2 separate regions of the Homo sapiens genome follow, and region 2 is linked to region 1. The links are contacts of gene promoters, found by promoter capture Hi-C in blood cells and fetal thymus (Javierre and others, 2016). All regions are on one chromosome and are shown on one strand. Each heading gives the region's core, a stretch centred on a gene start or on the middle of the fragment in contact. The rest is flanking DNA. Distances are from core to core; before and after follow the strand shown. Region 1 holds the start of HADH (hydroxyacyl-CoA dehydrogenase). Region 2 overlaps ELOVL6 (ELOVL fatty acid elongase 6).

Region 1 (5,498 bases), core at 1,741-4,240:
CCTCCCAAAGTGCTGGGATTACAGGCTTGAGCCACCATGCCGGGCCGAAGATAATTATTATAAAGGCAGCTAACTTTCTGTGAACTCTTATTACATGCCAGACACTGTGTAAGTGCTTGACATATGCTTGATATATGTAACTGCTTGACATATGCATGAATTCATTGAATTTATTCAATTCTCTCCCTACGAGGCCAGTACTAGCATTAGTCTACTTTAGAGATGAGAAAACCGAGACACAGAGGTAAAGTCCCATGTTAATACTGCATGAGGCAGAGCTAGCATGCAGACCATCCAACTTCTTATATTGAACTGTAGCCCATCTGTACTCAAAACACATCAACTAATTCGTCTCTGGCACTCAATAAGCAAAACAGATTTACCCTATGCCAAAAGCTGTTGGTCAAGGAGCATAAAGAATGAAGCAATACTGCCTAGAACTGCATGCTACAGGGTAGGGTGCAAAAGCAGATAAGCTAAACCACTGCAAAGCATTGCTCACAAATGTTTTAGAGGATTGGAGCTGTCAACTAAAGTAACTGAGGTTTTTCCAAACTGTGTTACATAAGGATGGAACTGTTTCTTATGGTCGTCCACTTTATAGATTTCTGGTCTTTATAACCTTTCAGAATGACAGTTCCATTATGTGTCCAGCCTATGGCATAAATAGCTTTTTTTTCCCTTAAGTTTCAAAAGGCACTCCCTGGTCCACCTATTTAAGAGTTTGATTGACAAGCACAAGCCTGTGTTCTCCATTAATGTCAATCATTTCTCCTTACTCCTTTGTCAGGTGAAAGCTCCAACACCATACCTGTAATTTTAGGTATTGCCCCTCTGCCTTTTAATGCAACACAACATCCATTTTTGGCCAATGATGGATGCAGCATTCAAAGAACTAAGCACTCTGATTTTCTACAAAAGTTGAAGTGACGCTTTCTACTTAGTTTCTAATCTTTTTCCACTGCTGTCTTCAAGGACACCAGCCACAAGTTTCTGGATCCATTTCCCATAATGTTCCTGGAGGCTGCTTAAGGCCCTAATATTTTGTTACTAAGATGTTGTTAAAATGTTTCTAAAAAACACATTGTTCTATTCCTGCTCACAACAAATCTCACTCTCACAGCCTTGGGAGATTTGGGTGGAGCCTGGGAATACAAACGTACTCAAACTAAACTTTCTCTTGAGTATAACCTGTGGAACTTTTAGGTTAAAGGGAGTTACTCCTCCCAGTCCACATACAACATAGATTATGGGGATACTATAACCTAGCAGCCAGGGGATCCACACAATAAAAAGGGCAATGTATGTCCAAAATTATGGTCTCAGAGGAAATGGGAGACTGTAAGAAGTCATATAAATAAAACATTACAGGGATATAGCTTTTAGAAGAAAATGCAATCAAATAAAAACGTTGTAAAAAACTTGCCAAGGAGAAGAAAATTGAGATATATAATACCTAATAGTAAAAGGTTTTTTTGTTTTTGTTTTTAAAAAGCAAGCATGAAAGCGTGGACTTGGTTGGAAACAAGACATTGAAAAAGTAAACTCTCTCATGACTGTAGCCACAGTAGTACTGTCCCCAAGAAAAATTAGATGACTATAACCGCCTTCCCCAACAAACCAAGTTGCAAAGGACTGAAATGCTAAGAATATAATCAGCTAGGATACGAAAACCATGGTTCTCCAATGTGAGCTGAAATGGAATAATTTTTAAAAAAAAAAAGTACAAGCATTACAGTAGCCAGGTAATCAATCACTCGCACAACTGAGCCTGAACCACAGCTCAGCAGAACAATGGAAAAGCCCTGAAGATGTACAATGGATAAAAGACTTGTTCCGGCTGGGTGCAGTGGCTAACGCCTGTAATCCCAGCACTTCGGGAGGCCAGGCGGGCGGATCACCTTTGGTCAGGAGTTCGAGATCAGCCTGACCCACAAGGTGAAACCCTGTCTCTACTAAAAATATAAAATTAGCCGGGCGGGGCGCCTGTAATCCCAGCTACTCGGGAGGCTGAGGCAGGAGAATCGCTTGAACCCGGGAGGCGGAGGTTGCAGTGAACCGAGATCGCGCCATTGCACTCCACTCCAGCCTGGGTCAAAGAGACTCCGACTCAAAAAAAAAAAAAAAAAAAAAAAGAGAGAGACTTATTCCGCTGCAGCGCCAAAATCGCAAGCTCAGAACTCTGCACAGACGGCACTATTTCAAAGGTCAAAACCAGGACCTCAGCAATCTTCCATTAGGTGACTTTACAAAGTGCTACAAAAGTCATGACTACTACTATTCTTTACAACCTAGCAAGCGAAGGAAAGACCGGGGAGAGCCGGGAGGCCGTTTAGGAGAGAAAACTACTTTGACAAAGACTGCACAATTACAGAATAAAAATCAAAAATAACTGATAGAATTAAAACTGATCGCAGTTCATGTCTTTGGCAGCAAACTCCCGTTTGAGCCGAGCAGGAACAAACGCGTTATGCCTGAACCTTGTGCACATACAATTCTTTCTTCTCTTGCACGGCCCGCTTCCAAAATGCATTCACCGCCACTCTCCATGGAACCTTCAGCGGGCCCTGGGGGCAGCCAGAATTTTCCAAACGAGGAAGCTGAGGATCGGCCCAGAACCCTGAATTTTGAGGGGAGTGAGACTTGGGCCCTCACAGGCCCAGACGCGAGATATTTCAACTACACCCGGGAGGCGCGGGGTGAAAACTCCCTGGTGTCGGGCGGGTGCAGGCCCCTCGCGGCCGGTCGCGCCAGAGCTTCCACCTCAGGGTGGGCGGCCAAGCGCGTGGGCACGCTGCAGGGAGGGCCGCTCACCTGGGCAATGCCGGCGCCCATCAGCCCGCCGCCGATGACCGTCACGTGCTTGACGATTATCTTCTTGGCCGAGGCCGAGGCGGTGGACGAGGAGGACACGGAACGCATGAACTGCCTGGTGACGAAGGCCATGGTGTGGCAGCGGCGGCGACAGCGAGGAGACCCGGGCAGGGAAGACGCGCGAGGCGGGCAGCCGCGGAAAGCCAGACTCTGGGGGCGGGGACCTACGCGGCCCTGCAGCCCGCGCGCCCCCGGCGTCCCCGTGACGCCACAAGGCGGGGGCGGGGCCTCGAGTCCCGCTCTGCCCATTGGCCCTGGCTGTAACGTCCCAGCGTTGAGCGGGTATACACGCGCGGGCTCGCAGCTGTCAGCAGCCGGAGCCCGAGTGAGCGCGGGCTTGAGACCTGCTGAGCAGCGGGACCTGGCGGCTGGCGTTCTGGTGTGGGGCCGAGAACAGACCCTTCTTCTGAAAAGCCACTGGCCCCTTGTTCTATGAAGTGAGTGGTGTTGACTCTGTAAAATGCTATCCTTTGATGACATGTGCATATCTAGGCTCTGAAGAAATATGTGCTGCTTGGCTGTGTTGGTAATGGACCCAAAATGTGCACCGTTGGTTGATGTCACCAAATAATCAACTCGGGATTATTTTAATCCCGTGGACAGTGATTGTTTCCCCTAAAAGGGAAATAAATGTAGACTGCGAACACCCAAAACAAATGTCTAGTGACCATGAGTTACAATGCAAAAATCAGGCTCAGGGAAGGTAAAGAGAGAGTTGACCTTTAGTTACCCATCTTGACGTTGGACGTCTATCAGTGCAGTGAACATGTGGACGGTTTAAGGTCATAGAGCAACCTTTCTGGAATAACGAATACTATTAGAAAGCATAGGAAAGAAATGTCTTGTCAAATAATGGAAGACTGGATAGCAGCTTGGCCAATCTTCTCACTCAGGTGAATACTTTCTAATTACTGTAACTTAGTGATATAGGATTCTTATTAATTTATTTGCTTTATGTTTAAATATTGTTAACAAAAAAACTTCAAACAAGTTTAGCAGAGTTTATCTGAGCAAAGAAAGCATGAATCATGTAGTATCCTGAGCCAGTAAAGGTTCAGAGAGCTCCAGCCCCTAACAGTGGGCAAGCCGCGTTTATAGACAATATTTTTTGCAGCCTGTAATGGGCTAAAAGCTCCGCTGCGGTGATTGGCCAAGACTTGGCCACTTGTTAGAAGAACGTACTCTCAAATTACATTGCAGTTTATTTACATATTAGGTTTGATTATGCTTTGCTAGGTAGGGAGGCAACTTTAGGCCAGATTTAATTTAATAACAGTTTCCTCCTTTGGGTCAGCCTCTCAGTTTTACGAGATTGACCAGAACCTTGTTTTGTCTCAGTATGGAAGTCACAATGTCAAATTAGTTGAGTGATTATACTTTCTTCATGTTGTTATTCTAACTGTAATAACACCATTTGGTGTACAAAGGATGGCTGCATAGAGACATTGAAGACTCTCGAGGGGACAACAACACATCAGGGAGACTATTATGGCCACGAGAAGGAGTATAGCAATAAACTGAGGTACACACCTTAACAGGAGTCTCCACAAACTGAACTGATCAAAATTAAACAATTCAAAGTTCAGGCAATAAAGATAGTTCAAAGTATTTGAGTCCAATTGGTCATGGTCTAATTTAGGGCATTATGGCGGTTAAGGACTGCTAGAAATGCTTATTTCTTGGTGCCGTAAAGAAATAGCACTTGAACATAAAATTAATTTCTTTAGCAAGGCCATTTTTACTTTCTGCGGAAAGAGTACACTCGCCAGCAGTTTTGCCACAAGAGTACACCGAACAAAGGAGGCAGGGTCATTTATAACCTGACCCGTCCACCTTACTGTTGTGACTGGTTTCCATTGGCTAGAACGGGACTTCACATTCTGTATTTGTCTTGATTGGCTAGCAACTTAGAAATTCTTAAAAGAGGCAAAGGCAGAGGAGAACAAAGGAAGGAGGAAGTAACTTGTGGAATGCTGAGAAGGGAAAAACACCTCTAAATAAGGAAGAGGAACAGGCTATGACCTAATGCCCACTTGGACCAGTATAAGCATGCCAGGGCAAATATTTAGGCTAAATTGTGGGAGCTAAGAACATAAAGTACATTGATTTCTTTATTACAGCTAGCAGATATTTAAGAATGTTAACAGGTCTTTGAATAAATTTTGCTTCTAAGAGAGGTTACTATTTATTCCTAATCAGATGAGGAGGAAAGTCTTTGAAAAGGAACCTCTACTTTACTTTTTACAAGGACCATAGTTCACTGAATGACCTGATTCAGCCTTATGGCCTGATTTAAAGAGGTATCCATTTTTGTAATTAGCCTGGTAACACAAGTTATAATAACCTGGAGAGCCACTAAAGAAGCATAAAGATTAGAAAAGTTTGGAATAGCCTAGCTTGCCTTTCACTACTCAGGATGCCTACAAACCAACCATTAGCTGCTCCCATAAATGTATCATGTGTTCCTTTCCCCTGAGAAGTTTCCTTAATATATTCAGTGGCAGTGTTTAGAGAAACAGCAGTATCTGCCACCTTTTAAATTAAGTTTTCTATAGTAGTAAAATTAGAGGAAAAATAAGTGCAACATTCAGTTTTATTCAGCACCATGCAAGAGCCCCCAGCAT
Region 2 (5,433 bases), core at 241-2,740, 2.2 Mb before region 1:
TCAGCTCTTCAGGTTACGGTTCTTGTCATCCCACTCTTGATTCTGCAAAGCACCTAGCAGAGTGCTTTGCATAAGGCACATTCTTGAGAAAATGTCCAGTGAGTTGAAATGGTGATTGGTGCCCATTTTATTGCCAGCACTACTCGTTAATACCCGAAGGTTAACAGGCTAGAACTTGCATACCGTGGCAGAGTCACATCTTGGGATTTTTCCCTTCCTGGCTTCTGCTCTCTGTTGATGTTATGTTCTTAGATTGCTTATTGCAGTCAAAGAACCCTGCTGGCTGTTACCCCTCCCTTGCAACTCTTCCTGACCCTAATTGTCTTACTTTCATGTTTTTTTTTAAATGCCAGATTTTGTGCATTTCTCCCAATATCCCAGGGTGCCCAATTTTATCTCTCCTCCCTCCCCAAAAACTGTACAGCCAAAAAGACTTTAAACACTTTTTAAAATTTAATTTTATTAGCCGGGTGTGGTGGCTCCTGCCTGTAATCCCAGCACTTTGGGAGGCTGAGGTGGGTGGATTACCTGACGACAGGAGTTCGAGACCAGCCAGGCCAATATGGTGAAACCCCATCTCTACTAAAAATACAAAAAAATTAGCCGAGCGTGGTGGCGGGTGCCTGTAATCCCAGCTACTCGGGAGGTTGAGGCAGGAGAATTGCTTGAACCCGGGAGGTTCAAATTAAAGCTTTTAGTTTTTATTTTTAATAGAATCCAGCTAATGCAGGACAAAAAGTCTTGAACCAGATTTTCTTTTCACTCCCTTTTTAATAGGAGAAGGGAACTCCATAACCAAGGCTTAGACCCTCTTGAGGAGAGAGGAACTTGAGGAAACCATAAAATCTTACCTTTTTCAGACTCATTAACTTAAAATGGTTTGAAATAGCTTCTGGAGGAAAAACATGATATAGTGAAGCTTCTACTCTGTCTTTTGGGAATTTATGGTTGTCCTTATAAATCTCTTCTTAGTAACAGGCAAAACTTGTTAATTTAGAGAATTAAAACATCCTCTCTCAAAAGTGAACTACATTGGCTTTTGAAGAACTGTGAGAATGGCCAGGAGTAGTATTTTGCCAGTATGCTGCCTTTGCTAACTAGCATCATTTAAGAGGACCTAAAATAAGAATACTTTATTAAACATACGCTATAATCCATACTTACTAACCATAGCGCAAATTAATGTTAACATACCCTATAATCCATACTTACTAACCATAGCACGTGTTAATGGAATGGGGCCCGACTTTTGGAGTAGCATTTGTATAAACCCTAAAGGGTTCAACTGAGGCTAGTTTTCAAGTTTATTGCTGCTTTAATGAATCATTAACCTCATACTCATTGGCCTAGCCATGAAAGTAAATACTGCAGACTTTTTTTACTTTGCTAGCAAAAAGTTTCATATATAATAGGTTAGAATAGCAATTGAAATGCAAAGTAATAAGTGTATTCCCTTGTAGAATCATCCTGGGCCTCATCTTGAAACTACATGTCCAGTGAAAAATATCCTGTCTGGTTATATTATCTGGTCAATGAGAGTTTATTACATGAGGTAGAGAAAAATGTCTGCTCATAGGTCCAAATAGGAGTTTTGAATTCTAATTTTCACTGAAAAGTCCTTGCAATTTTACAACATTGAAAATAGAGACATTTTGCTCTTTTATGAGATGTCTGGCCTTTACCTGTTTTTCTCACTAAGAGCTGACTTAAGTTGGAAGTGCTGCTAGCCAGGGAGCAAAATCACCTGGTGATTGCTAAGGCGACATATAATTCATTGAGTGAGAAGGGAAGCTGGGCTCTCTCTGCCTTCTCTTTCAGCAGCCTGCCAGGTTTGTGCTAACAGCAGTGGATGCTAGTTGCTCCAGTTGTAATTGTCTAGCCAATGATGATTATCTTCTGATGTCGGCTGACACGGTGCCCACCAATAGGAAAGCAGGAGGCCTGTGCTGACTGCTGTAACATTATGTATGTGAGGTGACGTCTTCAAAGGGCTTGCCTAGAACTTCATGAAACCCTCCCCCTCTCCTGGCATTCTCCACACATCCAGCCTTTCAAAGCTTTATATATTTTTCTGACTTTTCTCCCCACTCACTCCCTTGGTGGTGTAAAAGGGTTTACTTGTTTTAACATTTTGTATTCTGTATTATAGAGTCTATAAGATAGTATAGGAATTTTAAGAATTAAATGCTGTTCAGCTGAGGAAGCCTTTTTATTCACAAATTTGTTTTTACCAAAGGTAAAAATGGAGTGAAACATTTTATTTTATTTTGTTTTATTTTTGAGACAGGGTCTCACTCTGTTGCCCAGGCTGGAGTGCAGTGGCACAATCTTGGCTCACTGCAACCTCTGCCTCCGGGTTCCAGTGATTCTTATGTCTCAACCTCCCAAGCAGCTGGGATTACAGGTGCCTGCCATGACACCAAGCTAATTTTTGTATTTTTAGTAGAGATGGGAATTCACCGTGTTGGTCAGGTTGGTCTTGAACTCCTGACCTCAAGTAATCCGCCCACCTCGGCCTCCGAAAGTGCTGAGATAACAGGCTTGAGCCACTGCAACCGGCCGTGAAACATTTTAAAAGGAGTTGTACATCTATATCTTTTTTGTAGGTGAAGTTTGGAAAGTAACACGATGTACAATTTCATGATTAAAGAACATAAAAAGCACTAAAAACCTGTGTTAGCATTTAACTCAAATATAGCAGCATAAAAAATATAGCAGCATAATGTTAATGAAACTGTTCAAATGCAGACATAGTATTTGGCTGTTGTTTTTCATTTAGTGAGGATTGCTTTGAATTGCTTCCTGAAGTCTTCCTTGCAACCTTCTACATTCATTTGTAAGAAAAATGGCTGGAAAACAGTGCATCTGTGACTATGGAACAGAGTAGGCCAGAGTTTCATTTCATCATTAACATTGCAGCAACAAATTTGGTCAGCTCTGTAGGAATATAGTGTGTCTATATTGTACTCATGTCACTTGCTGTTTATTTTGAGGTATCACAGTTCATATTGATTTAGGATTAAAACTTGTGTGAGGATCATAACATGACATTCAATAATTTTTAGAAAGCACTGGGATGTAGGCATATGTACTAGGTTAAGAGTGAGAAGAATGAGAAAATACATAGAGAAAAAACGTGTAATCTGTGTGGGGTCCTAGAAAATAATGTAAAGTTGTGCTGGAGCTTTGATATGAACTTTCATGTATCTTTTAATAAATTATAAATATTCATGCAATTCTTGTTTAGGATTCCAAAGGATGAAAGCCAGCTTAATGCAAAATATTTTATGATTATATTATCCATCTGTGTATTTGTACTAGTTATAATTAGTGCTTAAAATTTTTTCATGAAGTCTTTTTCACATTGGAAGTAAAATTTTGTGATCTTCAGAGGATTGCCTGTTGCTTTTTTGTTTGAGGGTGATTCTAAATGTGTCAAAGTGTATAACATTGGAACTTAATGAAACTTTTCAAATGCAGACATAGTATTTCACTGTTGTTTTTCCTTTAGTGAGGATTGCTTTAAATTTCTTCCTGAAATCTTCCTCGTAACCTTCTGCGTGCATTTGTAAGAAAAATGGCTGGAAACTTCAAAGTCAACTTATTCCATATCTAAGAGTTGCCTTATATACTTCCTTGAAAGAAGAATCTTTCTTTTTCTTTTTTTTCTTTCTTTCTTTTTTTTTTTTTTCTTGGATGGAGTTTTGCCCTTGTTGCCCAGGCTGGAGTGCAATTGTTCCATCTCGGCTTACTGCAACCTCTGCCTCCTGGGTTCAAGTGATTCTCCTACCTCAACCTCCTGAGTAGCTGGGTTTACAGGCATGCGCCACTACACCCGGCTGATTTTTTTGTATTTAGTAGAAACGAGTTTTCACCATGTTAGTCAGGCTGGTCTCGAACTCCTGACTTCAGGTGATCCACCTACCTCGGCCTCCCAAAGTGCTGGGATTACAGGTGTGAGCCACCATGCCCGGCCAGAGGAATCTTTCAGCTTAGATAGTGGAAGAGTTATGAGGGGGACGGAGGTTTTGAAATACTTAGGGGGATATACAATAACCATCTAATCAATTTTCTTTTTCTTTTCTTTTTTTTGAGCCTGGTCTTGGCTCACTGCAACCTCTGCTTCCTGGGTTCAAGCCTCAGCCTCCTGAGTAGGTGGGATTACAGGTGCCCGGCCCCCCATCTAATCAGTCTTTAGACAACAAAGTAAAATGAGTGTGGCACCATTCTGGCAATTCAGGAATTTATCTTGGCTTAAGTGATCTGAAATATTTCAGGTCCAAGTATTTTATTTTCTGAAATGAGTTAACCAAACATTGTCTTAATGATTAACTTAATTTTTCACATATGGACACAGGTGAGCCAAACTGTCCTTTATTAATAGGAACCAGACATCATTCTACAAAGTTTGCCTCAGCCCTCCCTTTACTCTTTATGTAGCTCACATCCACCCGCTCCCATTTACTTCTCATTTATCTTTTTTAGGAGGGTTTAGGGAAAGTTACCTGTACCACATATGTCATTTCTGTTGATAACCCTAGGTAATCTGAGTGAAACTATGACTTGGCTATATTGTAATGTTAAAACTCATAACTTCATTCCTTTATCCAGATTCTGATTGTACATGTATTCAGGCAGGTACAAATGTTGGCATAGTTATTGAGGTTTCTGAGAACTTTAAAAAAACCCAGCATCTCTAATTATATTTACCCTCCAATAATTTATTTTAGAGATACATGGGTCCTTTTTTAAAAAGTATTGTATGGGTCGGGTATGGTGGCTCACACCTGTAATCCCAGCACTTTGGGAGGCCGAGGCAGGCGGATCACTTGATGTCAGGAGTTCGAGACCAGCCTGGTCAAAGTGGCGAAACCCTGTCTCTACAAAAAATACAAAAATTAGCTGGTCATGGTGGTACGCACCTGTAGTCCCAGCTACTCTGGATGCTGAGACACAAGAATGGCATGAACCTGGAGGCGGAGGTTGCAGTGAGCTGAGATTATGCCACTGCAATGCAGCTTGGGCAACAGAGCAAAACTGTGTCTCAAAAAAAACACAAAAATTGAAAAAAAAAAAAGTGGCCGGGCATGGTGGCTTATACTTGTAATCCCAGCGCTGTGGGAGGCTGAGGTGGGTGGATCACTTGAGGTCAGGAGTTCGAGACCAGCCTGGCCAACATGGTGAAACCCTATTTCTACTAAAACTACAAAAATTAGCCGGGCGTGGTGGCGGGCGCCTGTAATCCCAGCTACTCCAGGGGCTGAGGCAGGAGAATCGCTTGAACCCAGGAGGCCGAGGTTCCAGTGAGGCGAGATTGCACCATTGCACTCCAGCCTGGGCAACAGAGTGAGACTCCGTCTCAAAACAAAACAAAACAAAAAAAGTATTGCCCAAGAGTAAAGAATATGAATTTGTAATTTTAAGTTGGTTGTG

Evidence for each region. The method cuts DNA at HindIII sites, captures the fragments that hold promoters and counts their contacts. A CHiCAGO score of 5 or more calls a contact.
Region 2: a fragment that was not itself captured here is called in contact with the fragment with the promoter of HADH in region 1 in 1 of 17 cell types (total B cells); the score reaches 5.0 in total B cells.

What each region holds. Positions count from the first base shown.
Region 1 is chr4:107,987,381-107,992,878 of GRCh38, reverse strand. HADH (hydroxyacyl-CoA dehydrogenase) reads right to left here and starts at 2,990. Exons shown (of 8, transcript NM_005327.7): 1 at 2,815-2,990. The coding sequence starts at 2,946. RefSeq lists a silencer at 2,994-3,223. The HindIII fragment of the contact is 11,946 bases long and covers 1-5,498 here.
Region 2 is chr4:110,190,451-110,195,883 of GRCh38, reverse strand. The region is part of intron 1 of ELOVL6 (ELOVL fatty acid elongase 6); the gene reads left to right. Among named protein-coding and RNA genes, the nearest start is that of ELOVL6, 5.4 kb to the left of the region's middle. The HindIII fragment of the contact is 1,138 bases long and covers 922-2,059 here.